Regions from separate parts of the Homo sapiens genome. Here all the other regions are linked to region 1. Evidence: promoter capture Hi-C in 16 types of primary human blood cells and fetal thymus (Javierre and others, 2016). All regions are on one chromosome and are shown on one strand. The core of a region is centred on a gene start or on the middle of the fragment in contact, and the rest is flanking DNA. Distances in the headings are between cores, read along the strand shown. Region 1 holds the start of LRRC10 (leucine rich repeat containing 10). Region 2 has its middle 41 kb from the start of YEATS4. Region 3 overlaps YEATS4 (YEATS domain containing 4).

Region 1 (3,950 bases), core at 845-3,344:
TTAAAAAACTATTCTGAAATTTGCTTTTTTCCCTCCCTACTTTATTTATCCGGAATCACTTCCCATATCAGTATATGTGGATTTGCCTCCTTATTTTTAGCAACTGCTGTATGTATAAAGTAGTATAAAAGATAAGCCCCCAATCTCGATGACTTCACATAATTAACATTTATTTCTCATTTACCTCAATCCTATTGGGGATCAAGTGGGAGTGAGGAGGGTAAGGAGATGTTTTGCTCTTAGCACTTATTCAGGAATCTAGGATGACCACGGCCCTGCCACCTGCAACATATGACTTCCATATACTTGGTGGCTGCTATAGTCACTCTGGGTGACAACATCCAGCCAGTAGATGGGGAAGGAGAGTGTGGAGAAGGGCAAAAGGTTTGTTTTACAATGAACCAAGTCTAGAGGTGACATCTAACACTTCTGCCCACATTACTTTGGCCAGAACTTGAAGAGTTTCCCCTGTAGACCAGCACTAGGAAATTGTCCTGGCTGGACAGCTGCTTGTCTGGAACAACTGGACACTGTGGAAGGGAAACACAAACCTTTAATGGGTGGTCAAACATACCTGACAAAGGTGCACTGTAGGAATACATCCGAATTTATTTAACATGCAGAAGGCTAGCTTGCTTCTCTTTCTTCTGCTTTTCTACTTATCTTTTGTCAAAGGCAAGTTTTTAAACTGTGGAAAGATATCATCTGATAAGAATGAAGACATGAGAAATTAGAAACCTGTAACCATTGCTGGTGGGTGTGTGTACTGGCTCAGATTTGGTGGGGTACAGAGGAGCCATCAATGAAAAACCTGTAAATGATGCATATCTATGATCCAGCAACACTTTTTTTTTTTTTTTTTTTGAGATGGAGTCTTGCTCTGTCGCCCAGGCTGGAGTGCAGTAGCGCAATCTCGGCTCACTGCAAGCTCCGCCTCCTGGGTTCACGCCATTCTCCTGCCTCAGCCTCCCAAGTACTTGGGATTATAGGTGTGTGCCACCACACCCAGCTAATTTTTGTTTTTTTTAGTAGAGATGGGGTTTTACCATGTAGCCTAAGCTGACCTCAAACTCCTGGGCTTAAGTGATTGGCTCACCTTGGCCTCCCAAAGTGCTGGGATTACAGGCGTGAGCCACCACACCTGGCCTGCTCCAGCAACACTTCTAAGGACGGTTTCTAAAGAAATGAGTGGATTGCTGCTCACATCTGTATGCACATGGATGTTTATAATAGTCATGCTTTGTAAACAACCTAGATGCCTAACCACAGAAAACTGTTTAAATTACTGCACATCCATGTAATGGAATACTATGCAGGGGTTTAAAATAATTGCATAGATATCTGCAAACATGAAAATATGTCCATGATACGTCATGATTAAAAAATAAGGTTCCTGGTCAAGTACCATGGCTCACGCCTGTAATCCCAGCATTTTGAGAGGCCAGGGCGGGCAGATCTCTTGAGCCCAGGAGTTCAAGACCAGCCTGGGCAACATGGCGAAACCTCATCTCTACAAAAAATACAAAAATTAGCTGGGCACGGTGGTGTGCACCTGTAGTCCCAGCTACTCAGGAGGCTGAGGTGTGAGGATTGCTGGAGCCAGGGAGGTAGAAGCTGTAGTGAGCCAAGATTGCACCACTGCACTCCCGCCTGTGTGACAGAATGAGACCCTGTCAAAAAAAAAAAAAAAAAAAGCTCCTAAAGTGCAATTTTAAAAAACAAATGATTACTTATAGCGAAAAGACTAGAGGACACATGCAAATGTGTACAGTATTTATCTCTGGGTAATAGAACTATGGGTGTTTTTCATTTTCTTCTTTTACACCTTTATGTAATGTGTTAATATTTTATCATTAGGGAAAAAAACAGCAAAGCTATTTTCAGCTTGAAATGAAAAAAGGTTGATAAAGGGGATTGGGGCTTAGGTGATTAAAGGCAAGCATGTGAGTCAGACATGGCCTCCCAGCCCCTGCCGGACTGTTGCGCTGTCGCCGGACACTCAAGTTGCTATCAGGAGCACTTTTCTCTGTCAAAGTGACTGGCTTTTGTCATGCAATCCCCAAGTTATAATGGGAGGGTAGGATAGGCCCCAGAGCAGTCAGCTGAGCCAGCCCCGCTCAGTGAGTCTGTCCTCTGGGGCTCGCCATGCCCCCAGCCTCCGCATGGGGAACACCATCAGGGCCCTCGTGGCCTTCATCCCTGCTGACCGTTGCCAGAACTATGTGGTCAGGGACCTCCGTGAGATGCCGCTGGACAAGATGGTGGATCTGAGTGGGAGCCAGTTACGCCGCTTCCCCCTGCACGTGTGCTCCTTCAGGGAGCTGGTCAAGCTCTACCTGAGCGACAACCACCTCAATAGCCTGCCTCCGGAGCTGGGGCAGCTACAGAACCTGCAGATTCTGGCCTTGGATTTCAACAACTTCAAGGCTCTGCCCCAGGTGGTGTGCACCTTGAAACAGCTCTGCATCCTCTACCTGGGCAACAACAAACTCTGCGACCTCCCCAGTGAGCTGAGCCTGCTCCAGAACCTCAGGACCCTGTGGATCGAGGCCAACTGCCTCACCCAGCTGCCGGATGTGGTCTGTGAGCTGAGTCTCCTTAAGACTCTGCATGCCGGCTCCAACGCCCTGCGTTTGCTGCCAGGCCAGCTCCGGCGCCTCCAGGAGCTGAGGACCATCTGGCTCTCGGGCAACCGGCTAACTGACTTTCCCACTGTGCTGCTTCACATGCCCTTCCTGGAGGTGATTGATGTGGACTGGAACAGCATCCGTTACTTCCCCAGCCTGGCGCACCTGTCAAGTCTGAAGCTGGTCATCTATGACCACAATCCTTGCAGGAACGCACCCAAGGTGGCCAAAGGTGTGCGCCGTGTGGGGAGATGGGCAGAGGAGACGCCAGAGCCCGACCCTAGAAAAGCCAGGCGCTATGCGTTGGTCAGAGAGGAAAGCCAGGAGCTACAGGCACCAGTCCCTCTACTTCCTCCTACCAACTCCTGAGGAGCTTCAGTTGCAAGTCAATGCCAAGGACCCAACTGCAGCATGTTCTGGAAGCCTCTCCATTGGAGTGGAAAGGATGGCTCTGGGTCATTTGGGAGTGGCTCTGCTAGTAGAGACTGATGGAGAGAGCCAGGTGGAATGCCATAAATCACACTGAGAAAATATTTCTGGCAAACAGCTCCTCTTCCAGAGGGGAGTTGTGTGCCAATGATGGCATGACAATCCAGAGATCATAACTTCTTTGCAAGAAAACAGCTTCTCCACACATGTATTTTGAAACACTGAAGAGCAAAAGGGGCTGGGACACTCTGAACTCCTGCACTCTCCAGAAGTGACTGGTCATGAAGCTCATGAGCTCCTCAAATAAGGTATTTGCCATAGAACTAAATATTCTGGTGGTCTGTCTCTTTGCAGGACATATTTTCTTTACTGTAAATGACCATAAACAGTATCAATGTATCACTGAGGCCACCGAAAAGGACATTTCTACCTAGGCAATCAGTCAGATTCACAGAAAAAAGTTGTTTGTTGTTGTAAAGGCTCAAGATGAAACTCTTTCCCCAGCAGTTTAGTGCCTGCTGAAAAGATCCCTGATGGACAATACTTCTTGGTGGACTCCAGCTGCCCCTTTTATTATTATTAGAGACAAGGTCTCACTCTGTTGCTAGGCTGGAGTGCAGTGGCACAATCATGGCTCACTGCAGCCCCGAACTACTGGGCTCAAGCCTTCCTCCCGCCTCAGCCTGCCCAGTAACTGGTACTACAGATGTGCACACCTGGCTAAGTCTTTAATTTTTTCGTAGAGATGAGGTCTTGCTATGTTGCCCAAGCTAGTTTCAAACTCCTGGGCTCAAGCGATGCTCCTGCTTCAGCCTCCCAAAGTGCTGGGGTTACAGGCATGAGCCACCACACCCAGCCTTCAGCTGTCACCTTAAACTTGACAGTGGCTCATGC
Region 2 (4,049 bases), core at 400-2,899, 210 kb after region 1:
GAAAAGAAAGAAAGAAAAATAGCAAAGGAAGGAAAATATTTTGTGATACATGGCATTATATGGCATTCAAAATTTCAGTGTCTATAAATAAATTTTATTGGAACTCAGCACTCATCTATGTCTGACTGCCTTTGTGCTACAATAGCAGAGTTTAGGATCTACGACAGAGACCATAAAATGCTTACTATCTGGCCCTTTTCAGAAAAAGTTTGTGGATCCCAACTCTAGAAGACTGGACAGAGCAGTCCTGGGACTTTAGGTTGCTCTTTGGAGATACAAAAATAGCTTAGTTATGGTCACCAAACCTCAACAAAAAGCATACTATATATTTGTCTAACCTCCTAAAATTTTAGGTATAGGAACAACCCTAGCATAATTAGGCCCACAACGAATGGCCCCATTTTAGGCCAAATCTAGGGGTTTTCACTTTTGACATGTAGTGAGCTATGTATTTATTTGTGATATCTTGGAACACAACTGGACCAGACTCTGTGCCTGGCATTGAGACAGGCTAGAATAGAGAGAGGAAAAGCCAAGATCTGTAACTAGACTTAGGCCCTGGTGTGGAATAGTTCCAGGACGGGCCCTGGAAGTTAATTGGCAGGGAACAGTAAAATGCCATGGAGCACTTCCCAGATGAGAGGCTTACCAAGGGCTTTACACACACTTACCAAGATAAACAAGACTAACGCCTCCTCTTTCACCAAAAAGCTTACCGTCTGAAGAATGGGAATACAAATCTAGGGTTAAAATCCTAGGTTCACAGCTGCATCTGGGAGATCACCCATTCCAGTTTTCCCTTTCTAGGTGAGCTGAACACCGTGAAACAGAGGCAAGCAAGATGCTAAGGTAGTTTAGAGGAGGGTGAGCTTACTTGCTGGCAGGCAATTTCAGCCTGGAAGGAAGGAAATACTTTAACAAAAGAAAGTAGAACGTGTGAGAGACAAGAAACCTCAGAGTACATTTAAGGAACAGCATGAAGATCCTACTGGCTGAAATGGATGGTGTATATGAACTAATTTTTAACTTACAAATTTACTTTTAATTTCCAGCTCTGCCCAACAGGAGGTCTTTTTAGGTTCAACTAAACATGAACTCACAATCTAGACCACACTCAGATACTTCAGCGGATACTCCAAAGGAAGCATAGATTGCCATCGGGCCATGGGCATGTCCTTCCAGGACTCCCTGCAGCAGTCTACCTAGCAGCACTGCTTAGGTTCCCACAGCAAGATCCTTACTGGCCACCAAAGGTCGAGTTCTCATGCAGAAAGGGAAACAGTTTTGCTAGCCCTTTACTCATGCTCCCCAACACCAGCTCCAGTTTCACTGCTTTCCCCCAAAATAACTCCTGGTAATATTTTTCTGAGAATTTACATGAAATTATGTAGACATAGGTAGACATTTGGTTTATATCTATTTTTTCACTATTAAAACAAGCAATGAACATCCTTACACATGAAAGTATTTCCTATCAGTGAAGTTACTTGATCAAATGGTAAATTTTCAATTTTTTTTTTTTTTAAGAGACAAGGTCTCACTGTGTTGCCCAGGCTGGAGTGCAGTGTCTATTCACAGGTATGATCCCACTACTCATCAGCATGGGAGTTCTGACCTGCTTCATTTCTGACCTGGGCTGGCTCACCCTTCCTTAGGTAACCTGGTGGTCCCCTGCTCCCGGAGGTCACCACATTAATGCCAAACTTAGTGTGGACACCAGATCAGCATAGTGCACTACAGGTCAGAATTCCTAGACTTGAGCGATCCTTCCACCTCAGCCTCCTGAATAGCAGGGACTACAGGCACGCACCACTGCACTCAGTAAATTTTAAATTCTGATAGGTAATATTAAGTGGCTATTACTCTTAATGCACACCAACAATGTATGAGTACCAAGTTCCTTTCACTCTCTGTGGCTGAATATTAGACATCTTTAAATTTTGTCTTTATAATGAACCAACAATTGTCTTGTGTTAATTTGCATTTCTCTGATTACTAGTGAATTCATACATCCTTTTTTTTTTTTTTAAACTTTTTAAATTGGGCGGGGGGGTCTTGCTATGTTGCCTAGGCTGTTCTCAAACTCCTGGGCTCATGTGATCCTCATGCCTTAGCCTCCCAAAGTGCTGGGATTACAGGCGTAAGCCACCATGCCTGGCCATATACCTTTTCAAATATTTATTAATTACCATTTGTATTTTTTGTATGTGTGAATTACTTGATCATATTCTTTGCCCATTTTTCTATTGAATTTTTTTCATCAATTTGTAGGAGATATACATATATATATATATGGCATACATATTAATGTATTGTTTATATACACACAATAAATATTTCTATTTTATTGAGTATTATTAGATATGTAATGGAAACTATTAAAAACTTTTGATCAATACAGCTTGGTGGCTAAGTGAATGTTAGGGCTTTGTGTGTCTCAGCTCTATGACTTCCTAGTATGTGACCTTGGGCAAAGCACTTAATCTCCCTGAACCTGTTTTGCTAAGTGGGGATAAGAGATGTACTCACTGGCTTGTCTTGAGTATGGGGCACATAAAGTATTCAGTAAATGGTAACACTAAGCTTTTTTTTTTTAATTGAGATATAATTCACATACCATAAAGTATACAAGTCAGTTGTTTTTAGTATATTCACAAGGTTGTGTAACGATCACCACTATTTAATTCAAGAACTTTTCCATCACCGCCACGTAAAAAAATTCTGCACCCAGTCACTCCCCATCCTCCCTTCCCCACCCATCTCCTGGCAACCACTAATCACTTTCTGTCTCTATGGATTTACCTATTCTGGATGTTTCATATAAGTGGAGTCATACAGTAGGTGGCCTTTGTGTCTGGCATCTTTCATTTGGCATGTTTATAAGATTCATTCTGCATGTTTAGCACATCATTCATTTTTACTGCTGAGTAATAATCCATTGTATTGATACACCACATTCGATTTATTCATTCATCAGTTGATGGACATGGGGATTGTTTCCAATTTTAGCTATTCTGAATGATGCTCCTATAAATATTCATGCACAAGTTTTTGTGTGGACATGTTTTCAATTCTCCTGGGTATATATCTAGAAGAATTTTGAGGTCATATGGTAACTCTATGTTTAACATTTTAAGGAACTCTGAAACTTTTTCTACAGCAGTTGCATCTTTTTACATTTTTACCAGAAATATATGAGAGTTTCAATTTCTCCACATCCTCATCAACACTTACTATTGTCTGTCTCTTTTATTGCAGCCATTCTAGTGGATGTGAAGTGTTATCATCATTTTGATTTGTATTTCCAAATGATGTTAAGCATCTTTTTATATGCTTATTGGCCATTTGAATATCTTCTTTGGAGAAATGTGTATTCAAATTTTTTGCCCAATTTTTAATTGTCTTTTTATTGTTGAGTTGTAAGAGTTCTTTATATATTCTGGATACTCGACTCTTGTCAGATATATGAGTTGCAAATATTTTCTCCCATTTCGTGGGTTTGTTTTTTTTTTCTGACTTTTTTTAGAATGTCCTTTGAAGCACAGAAGTTTTTTTGTTTGTTTGTTTGTTTTTTTGGGGGGGACGGAGTCTCACTCTGTTGCCCAGGCTGGAGTGCAGTGGTGTGATCTTGGCTCACTGCAACCTCCGCCTCCCGGGTTCACGCCATTCTCCTGCCTCAGCATCCTGAGTACCTGGGACTACAGGCACCCGCCACCATGCCCAGCTAATTTTTTGTATTAGTAGAAGCAGTGTTTCACCATGTTAGCCAGGATGGTCTCAATCTCCTGACCTCATGATCCACCTGCCTCAGCCTCTTAAAGTGCTGGGATTACAGGCGTGAGCCACCACACCCGGCCAAAGCACAAAAGTTTTTAATGATGAAGATCAATTTGCCGTTTTTTTTTTTTTTTGAGACAGGGTCTTGTTCTGTTGCCCAGGCTGGAGTGCAGTAGCATGATCCTGACTCACTGCAACCTCCATCTCCTGGGCTCAAGCGATCCTCCCACCTCAGCCTCCCAAGTAGCTGGGACTACAGGTGCACACCACCA
Region 3 (4,164 bases), core at 422-2,921, 230 kb after region 1:
TCAGTGCCCTTAAGGGATGGACACAAGCTAATCAAATTAATGATTTAAGACAGTCTGTTATTTGGCTTGGAGATTGGGTGGTGAGTCTCGAACATCGCATGCAAATGCAGTGCAACTGGAATACTTTGGATTTCTGTATCATCCCCTATTCCTATAATGAGACTGATTATTCATGGGAAATGGTCAAAGGACGCCTTCTGGGTAGGGAAGATAATTTATCATTGGACATAACTAAATTAAAGAAACAAATTTTTGAAGCCTCTCAAGCTCACTTATCCATTGTGCCTGGAGCTGAGGCGTTAGATCAGGTGGCAGAAAATCTTTATGGATTAAACCCCACGACTTGGATTAAGTCTATTGGGGGCTCCACTGTAGTAAATTGTGGAATTACATTTCTCTGTTTAATCAGCTTGTTTTTAGTGTGCCGGACCAGTCAAAGAATCCTGGGTAAAAATCAAGAGAATGAACAAGCCTTCATCACCATGGCACATTTATATAAAAAGAAAGGGAGAGATGTTGCGGGAAGTCAGGAACCCCGAACGGAGGGAACGGCTGAAGCCATGGCAGAAGAACATAAATTGTGAAGATTTCATGGACATCTATTAGTTCCCCAAATTAATACTTTTATAATTTCTTACGCCTGTCTTTACTACAATCTCTGAACATAAATTGTGAAGATTTCATGGACACTTATCACTTCCCCAATCAATACCCTTGTGATTTCCTATGCCTGTCTTTACTTTAATCTCTTAATCCCGTCATCTTTGTAAGCTGAGGAGGATGTATGTCACCTCAGGACCCTGTGATGATTGCGTTAACTGCACAAATTGTTTGTAGAGCATGTGTGTTTGAACAATATGAAATCTGGGCACCTTGAAAAAAGAACAGGATAACAGCAATTGGTTCAAGGAACAAGAGAGATAACCTTAAACTCTGACTGCCGGTGAGCCAGGCAGAACAGAGCCATATTTCTCTTCTTTCAAAAGCAAATGACAGAAATATCGCTGAATTCTTTTTCTCAGCAAGGAACATCCCTGAGAAAGAGAATGTGTCCCTGAGGGTAAGCCTCTGAAATGGCTGCTTCAGGGGCGGCTGTCTTTTACGGTCGCAGCTGTAGGGATGAAATTAGCCCCAGTCTCCCGTAGCACTCCCAGGCTTATTAGGACTAGGAAATTCCTGCCTAATAAATTTCGGTCAGACCGGTTGCCTGCTCTCAAACCCTGTCTCCTGATAAGATGTTATCAATGACAATATGTGCCCAAAACTTCATTAGCAATTTTAGTTTTGCCCCGGTCCTGTGATCTCACCCTGCCTCCATTTGCCTTGTGATATCTTATTACCTTGTGAAGCATGTGATCTCTGTGACCCAGACCCTATTCATACACTCCCTCCCCTTTTGAAAATCACTAATAAAAACTTGCTGGTTTTGTGGCTTGTGGGGCATCATGGAACCTGCCGACATGTGATGTCTCCCCTGGACACCCAGCTTTAAAATTTCTCTCTTTTGTACTCTGTCCCTTTATTTCTCAGACTGGCCGGCACTTAGGGAAAATAGGAAAGAACCTACGTGAAATATTGGGGGTGAATTTCACCCGATATCTGGCTGAATTTCCCCTGATACTGGCTGACTTCATCACCTGCTGATTATAGAGCCTTAGGGCCTCACACAAACATAGGTGGCAGCCAGGCAGCGGTTACAGTGGGCCTTGGGCAAGACCCAGTAATGTGCTGGCTTCAAGTCTGACCTAAGGCAGTCCCAGTGGTGGTGGCTAAAGGGGTGCTTGTGTCATCCCTCCTCAGGTCTAGGCAGTTCAGCACAGAAACAGAAACTCCGTTTGTTTGGGAGAAAGTAAGGGACGAGAACAAGAGTCTCTGCCTGCTAATCCAGAGGATTCTTCTGGATCTTATCCAAGACCACCAAAGTCGTACCCTACAAATCTGCAAGAACCACAGCATTACTGGGCCTTGGGGTATCCCCTAATGCAGATATGGCTGCAGTGACCAAAAATTTAGATCACAACACCTAAGTTCCTTCAAATACCTGGAAAGCCTGCCCAAGGACAGGTACAACAAACCTAGATTACAAAGACTACAATAAAAACCTAACTCTGCAATGCCCAGACATTGATGAATATCAACAAGTATCAAGACCATCCAGGAAAACATGACCTCACCAAACGAGCTAAATAAGGCATCAGTGACCAATCTCTAACAGAGATATGTGACCTTTCAGAAAGATAACTCAAAATAGCTGTTTTGAGGAAACTCAAAAGAAATTCAAGATAACACAGATAAAGAATTTAGAATCCTATCACATAAATTTAATAAATAAATGGAAATTAAAAGAATCGAGCAGAAATGCTGGAGTTGAAAACACCACTGACATATGGAAGAATGCATCAGTCACTTAATAGCAGAACTGATCAAGCAGAACAAAGAATTAGTGGGCTTGAAGAGAGGCTATTTGCAAATTCACAGTGAGAGGAGACAAGAGAAAATGAAGCACATCTACAAGTTCTAGAAAATAACCTAGAAAAGGGGAAATCCAGGCCAGGTGCAGCAGCTCACACCTATGATCCCAGCACTTTGGGAGGCCAAGGAGGGAGGACTGCTTGAGCCCAGGAGTTCGAGACTAGCCTGGGCAACATGGCAAAACCCCATCTCCACCAAAAAAAAAAAAAAAAAAAAAAAAAAAAAAAAAAAAATTAGCTGGGCATAGTGGTGGCATGTGCCTGTGGGTCCCAGCTACTCAGGAGGCTGAGGTGAGAGGATTGCTTGAACCCGGAAGGTGGAGGTTGCAGTGAGCCAAGATCATGCCACTGCACTCCAGCCTGGGTGACAAAGTCAGGACCTGTCTCAAAATAAAAAGGCAGGGTAGGGGTAGAATCTAAGAGTTATTGACCTTAATTAAAGAGGAGATAGAGAGAGAGAGGAGTAGAAAGTTTATTCAAAGGGATAATAATAGAGAACTTCCCAAATTCAGGGAAAAATATCAATATTCAAGTACAAGAAGGTTATAGAACACCAAGGAGATTTAACACACAGAAGACTACCTCAAGGCAGTTTATAATCAAACTCATAAATCTCAAGGATAAAGAAAGGATCCTAAAAACAACAAGAGGAAATAAACACAAAAACAAGTAACATACAATGGAGCTCTAATACATCTGGTAGTGGACTTTTCAGTGGAAACTTTATAGGCCAGTAGAAAGTGGCATGACATTTAAAGTGCTGAAGGAAAAAAAGCCTTTTGTCCTAGAATAGTACATCTGGTGAAAATAGCCTTCGAACATGGAGAAATGCTTTCCCAAACAAAAGCTGAGAGATTTCATCAACACCAGAGCTGCCCTACAAGAAATGCTGAAGTTCTTCAATCTGAAAGAAAAGCATGTTAATAAGTAATGTGAAATCATCTGAAGATACAAAACTCACTGGCAAGTAAACAGAAAAACAAAGAATATTATTACATTGTAATTGCAGTTTGTAAACTACACAAGTCTTAGGTAGAAATATGAAAAGATGAACCGATCAAAAATAATAACTACAATTTTTCAAGACATAGATAGCAATAAGATATAAATAGAAACAACAAAAAGTTAAAAGTGGGGAGATGAAGTTAAAATATAAAGTGTTTATTGCTTTCTTTTTGCTTGCTTGTTTATGCAATCAGTGTTAAGCTGTCATCAGTTTAAAACAACGGGTTATAGGATATTATTTGCAAGCTTCATGGTAAGCTCAAACCTAGAAACATAAAAGAGAAACACAAAAATAAAAAGAAATTAAAATATACCACCAGAAAAAATCACCTTCACTAAAAGGAAAACAGGAAGGAAGGAAAGAAGAAAGAGAAGACCATCAAACAATCAGAAAAATAAAATGGTGGAAGTCCTTACTTATCAATACTAATGAATGTAAATATCAATATCAGTGAATGTAAATGGACTAAAGTCTCCAATCAAAAGACACAGAGTGGCTGAATGGATGAAAAAACAAGACCCAGTGATGTACTGCCTCCAGGAAACACACTTCACCTATAAAGACACACGTAGACTGAAAATAAAGGGATGGAAAAAGATATTGCATGCAAATGAAAAAAAAAGATATTGCATGCAAAATCAAAAAAGAGCAGGAGTAGCAATACTGACATCAGACAAACAGATTGCA

Evidence for each region. The method cuts DNA at HindIII sites, captures the fragments that hold promoters and counts their contacts. A CHiCAGO score of 5 or more calls a contact.
Region 2: a fragment that was not itself captured here is called in contact with the fragment with the promoter of LRRC10 in region 1 in 3 of 17 cell types (M0 macrophages, M1 macrophages and M2 macrophages); the score reaches 6.0 in M0 macrophages.
Region 3: a contact is called between a fragment that was not itself captured here and the fragment with the promoter of LRRC10 in region 1, in 1 of 17 cell types (M0 macrophages). The highest score is 5.8, in M0 macrophages.

The regions. Positions count from the first base shown.
Region 1 is chr12:69,609,051-69,613,000 of GRCh38, reverse strand. LRRC10 (leucine rich repeat containing 10) reads left to right here and starts at 2,094. Exons shown (of 1, transcript NM_201550.4): 1 at 2,094-3,950. The coding sequence starts at 2,163. The coding sequence ends at 2,996. The HindIII fragment of the contact is 9,863 bases long and covers 1-3,950 here.
Region 2 is chr12:69,398,677-69,402,725 of GRCh38, reverse strand. It overlaps a transcript of YEATS4 not described here and the pseudogene RN7SL804P. Among named protein-coding and RNA genes, the nearest start is that of YEATS4, 41 kb to the right of the region's middle. The HindIII fragment of the contact is 1,872 bases long and covers 714-2,585 here.
Region 3 is chr12:69,378,125-69,382,288 of GRCh38, reverse strand. All of the region lies in intron 6 of YEATS4 (YEATS domain containing 4), which reads right to left. Among named protein-coding and RNA genes, the nearest start is that of YEATS4, 20 kb to the right of the region's middle. The HindIII fragment of the contact is 4,107 bases long and covers 1-3,724 here.